Regions from separate parts of the Homo sapiens genome. Here all the other regions are linked to region 1. The links are contacts of gene promoters, found by promoter capture Hi-C in human tissues and cell types (Jung and others, 2019). All regions are on one chromosome and are shown on one strand. Each heading gives the region's core, a stretch centred on a gene start or on the middle of the fragment in contact. The rest is flanking DNA. Distances are from core to core; before and after follow the strand shown.

Region 1 (3,221 bases), core at 551-3,050:
AAATATAGCAAAATAATGAAAGAATAATTTTAATGTATTTAACCAGAGTAATCAAACCTACAGAATTTTTCAGGTATAGTCATCTCCCTTATTTATTGATCAATGACACTCACATCATTTTAGGTATAAGGCAGACAACCTTGACAACGCCAATGCTGGAAAAAGGACGTTTTACATACTAAGATGGGGTGTCCCAAACTCACTCCAAAATGCCCTCTGCAACACTATTTTAAAAAAGAACTAAAAATGGAACTTTCCCATGTCTTCCAACTTGATTAAAAAACACCTATCCATTCAAGGAAGGGACAATCCAGAATCTAAGAATTATAACAGATATGATTATAAAAGAATAAATTAAAGTAAGGTAAGGTGAACTTCGACACATTATTATTTATTTACTTCCTTATATCACTTGCTGATGGATGGGATGTCAACTTTAAATCAGTGACTGCCAATATTCCGATAATGTCAGGGATACAAAGGGTGGGAGAAGAGTTGAATTTTACCACCATAAATAAGTATCCAATATCACTTTCTCAGAAAAATTTTCAACAATTCTATTGCACTAGACTTTGTAGCACAGTAAGAATCAGATACATGTTGATTACAATATGAACTCATATTCAATTCCTAGCTCCCTGACCACCAGCAAATCACTGAAGCTTTGTAGGCCTCAGTTTCTTCACATTTAAAATGAGGATTAGGAATATCTACCTTACAGGAATAAAGAAATGAAGTAACACATGTAAAACCCCCAGTAGAGTGCCAAGCACACAGCAAGCACCCGTGTGTTACGTAGTATTGTTACTACTATTATCCTGTCATCAGTAAGTGTTGCAGGTAACTGAAAGCAATTCTGAGATGTTTATCATCCATAACAGTCCTCAAGAAAATACCCAGAGGCCTTGAAAATAAAGTTCTTGAATGAGTGATTTTCTTCAAAGCCCAAAATGCGATTTTTTTAATGAAACACTGTGTTAAAAGTACAGAACGGTAGTTTAGAAAGGTAGCTCTTGAATGTGACTCACAAGGCATACCAACAGGACCCTGTCTTTTACGGGGATCACATGGGGCTGTACTATCAGCTAGGGGCTGGCTGTGCCCTCTGGTGGTTGGATACTGTGTTACTTGGTCTCTAGAACCTCACACTTAAAAGTCAGACAAGTGTCCTCAAATACTTAAATCACAGAATTTTAATTCTAGCGAGTCCTTGGTTATTATTCTGAGGGAAGATTTCTACAGTCAAAAGAGAACCAAACGTGCAGCGTCCTGGAAAACCTAAGTATTAAAATTCGCCCCCGTCCACTGTACTTGACAGTAAAAGGCATGATTCTCTCAAAGCCATACATATTCCTGGACTCCTGCCTCCCGAGACTCCAGGAGGACTCTCGGGACTGGCCAGTGTCCCAGAGCACTGAGCGTTATCAGTCCTTGGTGTGGCTGCAGGGAGCGGACGTTCAGTGTTCAGGCTGCCGGCAGCAGTGGGATGTGTTGGGGGGGACCGGAGAGGTCTGTCACTCACCATTTTCCTCCAAGGGGATTTATTCTCCAAAAATTTATTCCAGAATTTCTCCATAGGCCCCATCTTCTGTGGGGGCAGCACCGGCTCCCGAGGGCTCAGCTCCTGGTCCTTCAGCCATCGCCTTCTCAGCTCTCGCAGCTGCTGCAGCCGCAGTTTCTCATCCGGAGTGTACCCCGTCATGTCGCCGCTGGTACCAACGCAAAAGGACACGGCGCACCCTCGAACTACGGACTAGTTACTTAAGCGCGCTCCCGCTCTGCAAAGCGACCTTGCGGGAACGCCGAGCGCCGCGCGCGGTTATTACGTCACATCCTGGTTCCGCCTCTGCAAGGGCCCCAGATTCCTCGCGAGGAAAGCAGTGTGTGGGCATGCACAAAGGTCTCCACCTCCAGTTCTCTCTACGCCCACCTCCGCTATACCCGACCAAATTAGGACCGGGTGGGGACAAGGAGTACTCGTAGTTGTGGGGCCTGAGGAAAGTGACAGATTAGACGAAAGTATGCTAAATTAGAGGACTGGAGGTTTTGCTAAGGAAGAACTTGTATGCTGGGAGGAGGAAGGATAAGCATAAATGTTTCAGTGAATATGCTGGCCAGATTCAAAATTATTTGCTTGCCTCTCCCACCTTGGAATGACCTAGAGAGTGTATGAAAATAGTTACATCCCAGTTCAAATCCCAGCTATGCCAGTAACTGCTGAAGTGCCCTGGGCAGCTGTCTCATCTGTCCCTCCATCTGTACAGGAATAGTGAAAAGAGTAGCTTAATATCTAGCAAAATTGCATAGATGAATTCATGCTTTCACCCAAAAATACGTGTGGTGAAAATATGAAAGAGCATGCACGACTATTCAGCACGATTCATAATACCAAAATATTGGAAATTACCCCCAAATTCCTAAATAAAGGACTGCTTGAATAAATTGTAGTACAACAGTCAAAAGACAGCATTACAACGAATTAGTTTAAAAATCTTAATTGACTCTTATTCGTGATTCTAGAATCAAAAAACACCTCATTCTATAAAGTAGAATGAGTGTTCTGATCAGCTGAGCAGAGGCGGTTGGTTTTATTGGCAAATAGGGGCTGAAGAAAGCAGAAACCGAACAAAAAGTGGACTCATCGTTTCAAAGTTACTTTTAGGGTTAAAGCAGAAGAAACTTCCTTGTTTCACTGACTCAGACTTAAGGGAATTTCCTATTTTTTGGGAAACTGGCCCATTTCAAAGTTCAGTTTGATTGTGTGGTACTTAGCACAAACGACTCCATTCTGGTTTGGTCTGGTCTGCTGGGGCCTAGTGCGTGAAGCTAGTCCAAAACAGTGGCTTCCCAAAAACTTTCACACAACAAAGCAATGAAATGCTAATACAATCGTCAAAAGTAATAAGGAAGAACTCTATATACATCTGTGGTGTGATCTCCAGAATACATTACAAAGTGGAAAAAAAATGGATAGGAATTTGTACAGTATGCTTTTACCCAAAAAGAGAAAGATGGTGGTAATTTCAATATATATACATATTTTCTTAAATTTTCAAAATAATGGGAATGAAAACAATTGAGGTTTTTAAAGATGCTACCTATGGTGGAGGAAATAAATAGGATAGAGGAGACAGGGATAGAATCTAGACATCTCTGGAAACATCTTACTTCATAAATTTGACTTTAGAACCAAGTAAATATTTCATATTGTGAAATTAAAT
Region 2 (2,971 bases), core at 238-2,737, 330 kb after region 1:
CCAGCAGCGAGACTTATTGCTAAGAGCGAAAGAACAAAACTTCTACACCCTGGAAGGGGACCCGAGGAGGTTGCCACTGGTGGCTGGGGTGACCTGCTTTTTATTCCTTTATTTGGTCCCGCTCACATCCTGCTGATTGGTCCATTTTACAGAGAGCTGATTGGTCCATTTTACAGAGAGCCGAATGGTCCATTTTTACAAGTGCTGATTGGTGTGTTTACAAACCTTTAGCTAGACACAGAGCGCTGATTGGTGCGTTTTTACAGAGTGCTGATTGGTGCATTTACAAACCTTTAACTAGACACAGAGCGCTGATTGGTGCATTTACAATCCTTTAGCTAGACAGAAAAGTTCTCCAGGTCCCCACCTGATTAGCTAGACACAGAGCACTGATTGGTGCGTTTTTACAGAGTGCTGATTGGTGCGTTTACAAACCTTTAACTAGACACAGAGCACTGATTGGTGCATTTACAATCCTTTAGCTAGACAGAAAAGTTCTCCAGGTCCCCACCGGATTAGCTAGACACAGAGCACTGATTGGTGAGTCTACGAACCTTTAGCTAGACACAGAGCGCTGACTGGTGCATTTACAAAATCCTTTAGCTAGACAGAAAAGTTCTCCAAGTCCCCACCCGACCCAGAAGTCCAGTCAGCTTCACCTCTCACTTTGAATCGAGGGCTGCAATAAAACATAATCTCAATCAGTTCAGCTAGCATCCCAAAGTGTGATCATTGCCATGCTGAAAGAAAACAGTGATTCTAAGGAAGCCAAAGAAACTTCTACTGCCAATAAAGACTGGTTTCATCATTTCAGATGCCAGAATGAATGATTTACAGTAAGCTATCTGATTAAGTAGCTGGTGAAAATAAGTTTTCTGCCGTGAAATTTGAAACAAGATTTCAAGAATTAGTTAAGGAAAGTAGGTTATGATGCTCTCAAACAAGAGAGTGGCTATGACAAAAGCACAAAGATGTCCCAGAGAAAGGGATGCTGGCAAAAATGTCAGGTTAAAGAAACTCTCAAAGATATTTCACAACCTTGAAAGTGCAGAGGATAAAATGTTAAAAGTGAATCCAAACTTGAAAGGATGGTGACAATTTGCCAAGGAATAAAAAAGGATGAAATACCGGGAAGGGCTACAACGTGGAGAAACCTTGAAACATTATGCAAAGCCAGTCATAAAAGACCACTTACTATCTGATTCCATTTATATGAAATGTCCAGAATAGGCAAATCTATATAGATACAGAAAGTAGATTAATGGTTGTCTAGGGCTGAGGAGGGTATGATGAGAGGGTAGGAGGGTGATAGATAAAGGGTCTGAGATTTAAACTGTCTGTTTAACATTATCAGAGAGCTGTCAAAAATATCCAGAATTTGAAAGGCTAAGATTCCAAAGAAAAAAGAAGCTGACTAAGTGAGTCCAATATTCTTTATACCTCTTTCGCCCTCAAGGCATTAATGACTCCTAGGGTGGCCGGGGTTGTAGGGGGTCAGGGAGTAGGGTTGCTGAGAAGGCAGGCAGAGAATGAATGCTAAGAGGCAAAGAAGCTGGCAATCTTGTGGAGCTGGGTTGGAGCCTGCCAAGACAGCCAGGACCTAAATAGCCAAGATTCCTGAAGAGAGGAGGCCTGGGGAAGACAGCCTGATACTCAGTAACTTTCCCTTCAACACTGAAAAAATAGGAATAATTATCTAGCAAGACCAATAAAAAAAGAGAAATCAAGCACAAATTACATAAGTAAGGGAACAAAAATGGCCTCACTACAAAAATGGCCTACACCCCACAAACATCAAAGAGTTACTAATGGGATATTAGAACAACCCTAGGCCAATAAATTTGGAAAATTAGATGAAATGGACAAACTCCTGGAAAAATAAAACTTATTAAAACTGCCTCAGAAAGATCAGAAAATCTGAATGGTGCTTTAGCTATTAAAGAAACTGAATCTATCATTTTAAGTCTTTCCACAAAGGAATCTCCAGATCCAGTTGGTTGTACTGATGAATTCTTCCACTGAGGAAGAAGAAAGACTAATACTAAGAAACTTCTCTCAGAGAAAACAATCTATAAATAAGGGAACTGATCAAGTTTACTAGTAAACAAGATCAATATACAACAAAACACCAAAAATAAACTACTAAAAATGAAATTTGAGGCCGGGCATGGTGGCTTACGCCTATAATCCTAGCACTTTGAGAGGCCAAGGCAGGTGGATTGCTTCAGCTCAGGAGTTCAAGACTAGCATGGGCAACGTGGCAAGACCCATCTCTACAAAAAATACAAAAATTAGCCAGGCATGGTGGCGCATGCCTGTAGTTCCAGCTACTTGGGAGGCTGAGGCAGGAGGATGGCTTGAGCCCAAGAGGTGAGGTTACAGTGAGCCAAGATCGTGCCACTGCACTCCAGCCTGGACAACAGAGTGAAAATGATATGATAGTGGCTCTCATCTGCTCCCCGCACCCGACCACTGGGGCAGATTTTAATTTTTTAAAAATAATCATCTGATGCTGAATTTAAAACTTTGGAGGGAATCAAAAGAGAAGGTCTTGCACTCCTGTTATCCAAGAGACATAAATACATGTGTGTTTTCCTTTTAGGCCGAAAACAAGAACAACATTCCTGGCATTCAACTACAAGGAAGCCCAATACCCCGGGTGCCATAAGACTTCCAGTATGCCTGCCTGAGCTTTGAAAGAGAGGAGAGGAAGCCAAGTCATCCAGCAGATCGGACCCACAAGCTCATCCTCTAGTTTTTTTCAAGGGGCACCATTCCTGTAAGGAAAGCTTTCTTGGGCTTGGCTGTAGAATCTTCCAGAAATGTAAACAAAAGAGTAAGAGCCAAAGACCAAGAACCCTGGCTGGTGAGAGTCAGAGGGCCAGAATTTAGTGTAAAGCCCGCTCTAAAGACTGTTAACACTTCCTTTCCACCACTGCATCGATGATTGTTTGAAAAAGTGATTGTTTGT
Region 3 (2,926 bases), core at 218-2,717, 420 kb before region 1:
CAGCCTTTGTTGAGATAACCTATCCATTCTGTAGGTTGTCTGTTTACCCTGTTGATAGTTTCTTTTGCTGTACAGAAGCTCTTTGGTTTAATTAGGTCCAACTTGTCAATTTTTGTTTTAGTTGCAATTGCTTTTGGGGACTTATCCAAAAATTATTTGCCAAGGTCAGTATCAAAAAGGGTGTTCCCTAAGTTGTTTTGTAGGATTGTTATAGTCTGAGGTCTTACATTTAATTCTTTAATCCCTTTTGAGTTTATTTCTGTATGTAGTGAAAGGTAGTAGCCATCCAGCTTCAATCTTTGGCTTATGGCTAGCCAGTTTTCCCAGCACCATTTATTGAATAAGGAATTCCTTCCGCATTGCTTGTTTTTGTCAGCCTTGTCGAAGATCAGATGGTTGTAGGTGTGTGGCTTTATATTGGAGTTTTCTATCCTAGTCTATTAATCTATGTGTCTCTTTTTGTACCAGTTACAAGCTGTTTTGGCTAATGTGAATTTATAGTATAGATTGAAGTCAGGTAGTATGATGGCTCTGGCTTTGTTCTTTTTGCTTAGAATTGCTTTGGCTATTCAGGCTCTTTTTTGGTTCCATATAAATTTTAGAAAAGTTTCTTCTAATTCTGTGAAGAGTGATGTAGATAGTTTGATAGGAATAGTATTGAATCTGTAAATCGCTTTGGGCAGTATGGCCATTTTTATGATATTGATTCTTCCAATCCATGAGCATGGAATGTTTTTCAAATTATTTGTGTCATCTCTGATTTCTTTCAGCAATGTTTTGTAGTTTTCCTCTTAGAGATCTTTCACCTCCCTGATTAGCTGTATTCCTAGGTATTTCATTTTCTTTGTGGCTATTATAAATGGGATTGTGTTCTTGATTTCCCTCTCAGCCTGGACATTGTTGGTGTATAGAAATGCTACTGATTTTTGTACATTGACCCTCAACAACCAAGGCATGAAAGGAACATACCTCAACTTAATAAGAGCCATCTATAACAAACCCACAGCCAACATTATACTGAATGGGCAGAAATTCAAACCATTCTCCTTGAGAAATGGAAGAAGACAAGGATGTCCACCCTCACCACTCCTATTCAGCATAGTACTGGAAGTCCTATCCAGTAGGACTATCATGCAAGCAGGCAAGAAAAATGAATAAAAGGTATCCAAATAAGAAAATATGTCAAACTATCTCTCTTTGCTGATGATATAATTGGATACCTAGAAAATCTTAAAGACTCTGCCAAAAGGCTCCTGGAACTGATAAACAACTCTGGTAATGTTGCAGGATACTGTACTTCCTATTCTTGTCTCAATGAAGCAATTTAGTACCATTTTCTTTCCAAAATCTTATTTTGGTGAAAATTTTATCTGTACTAGAGATAGCAGCAAACAGACAAAAAAAAATTAGTAAGATAGATCCTAATTTTGATTACTTTCACTTATCTAAGAATTGCAAAGCTGACTCAGACATGAGGGTGTTAAGATAATAAACTAACCTATGATAAACACAGATAATTATAGAACAATTTTTGAAAAGTCTAAGATTTAGAGTCAGTGTTAAATACATGTTTGGAATAATTAAGAGCATGGCTTTTCAATAAATTAAAAAGTAACAGCGTATTTTAGGAAGCTGGCAAAAGTCAAATGAGCAAAATTGATTATTGTAGCAAAGAATTGGATAAAGTTGTTGGAAGTATGAGGCTGGATTAGCACTTACAAAGATTTTTCAAATTATTTCTTATACTTTCTTGTTTCTGTTTTTTTCACAGTTAACTGCCAATATTCTCACATACTTGTATAACTGTGATAGTCATTGAAAACTCTTCACAAAATATTTTTATTCTCATTCCAGGTAAATAGTGAACTGAAGTTTCACCCCCGCTTTGAATTAAATGACATGCTTCAAAATAAGCTGATGTGGTATTTATCACTTTCAGGTGAAAGTTCTATGAATCAGGGCACAATTTGCCACCCTCTCTTTCTCCCCACCACAGGGACTGACCATTTTTTTCAATAGTAAGCAGCTGCTATGTCACCTCATGAACTCACGAGGATGACAAAGAAAATGGCCAACAGCTGATGGAGCAAAATCTGGAAATAGTACTTTCTTTAAAAATATCAAGGCTCAGGGTTCTTACTGCAGTATAACCAGTCCATCCTCACAGATATAATAAGTATAGAAAAATATGTATTTATCATATTGGCATTTGACATTACAGGAGTAATAGATAATAACTATTTAAGAATGAAAATTCGAGATTAGGTATTTCTAGGTGTTAGTTTACTGGTTGTATTTTATTTGTAATTTTCCATGTTTCAAATTGTCTTCAATGTCTGAGTGTTTAATAATCATAAAATCAACAACCTTTATGTTAAAAGAGAATAGGATTATAATAAAAATAAATAAGCTTCATAATGTTAAGTATCAATAATTTCTATATTTTGAAATATGATTAATGCACTGTAGGTGTTCTTTTAATGCATGTGTTAGTACACAAGTAACATAAGCAATTATTTCAGTTTTATCTTTTATTGCAAATCACATGTGCATACTATAATTACCTATTTTCATGTAGTATTAAGAAGCATTATTAATTAACACAAAATTTGTTTTCTGCTAATGGTTTTTAACAGATAGCAAATGCATTAGTTTTCCTCTGTAAACAATTTGTACTGAATCACACATATTTTGATATGTGGAACTTTATGTTCATCTTCCAGAAGACCATGCAAACAGTTCTAAATTCTACTTTCAACAAATGGTTATTTTTAAAAGTAACATTCTGATGACATTTTAATTTTCTTGTTTTCTTAAACTTTGGACTTCTCGTCAAGTTTTATTGCATTGTTATAAGACGTAGCACATACCTTTTCAAATTTATCATAATTTTATTATGGCTCAGTGTGTCATCAGCTTATTAAAA

Evidence for each region. The method cuts DNA at HindIII sites, captures the fragments that hold promoters and counts their contacts. A contact is called where the count stands out against the background at its distance.
Region 2: a fragment that was not itself captured here is called in contact with the fragment with the promoter of NDUFB6 in region 1 in 1 of the 25 tissues and cell types used here (lymphoblastoid cells).
Region 3: a contact is called between a fragment that was not itself captured here and the fragment with the promoter of NDUFB6 in region 1, in 1 of the 25 tissues and cell types used here (H1 embryonic stem cells).

Annotation. Positions count from the first base shown.
Region 1 is chr9:32,571,359-32,574,579 of GRCh38, forward strand. NDUFB6 (NADH:ubiquinone oxidoreductase subunit B6) reads right to left here and starts at 1,801. Exons shown (of 4, transcript NM_002493.5): 1 at 1,523-1,801. The coding sequence starts at 1,702. RefSeq lists enhancers at 1,349-1,888, 2,159-2,208. The HindIII fragment of the contact is 12,015 bases long and covers 1-3,221 here.
Region 2 is chr9:32,906,656-32,909,626 of GRCh38, forward strand. No RefSeq gene overlaps it. Among named protein-coding and RNA genes, the nearest start is that of APTX, 93 kb to the right of the region's middle. RefSeq lists an enhancer at 1-1,036 and a silencer at 2,254-2,454. The HindIII fragment of the contact is 8,299 bases long and covers 1-2,971 here.
Region 3 is chr9:32,156,392-32,159,317 of GRCh38, forward strand. No RefSeq gene overlaps it. Among named protein-coding and RNA genes, the nearest start is that of ACO1, 230 kb to the right of the region's middle. The HindIII fragment of the contact is 4,188 bases long and covers 1-2,926 here.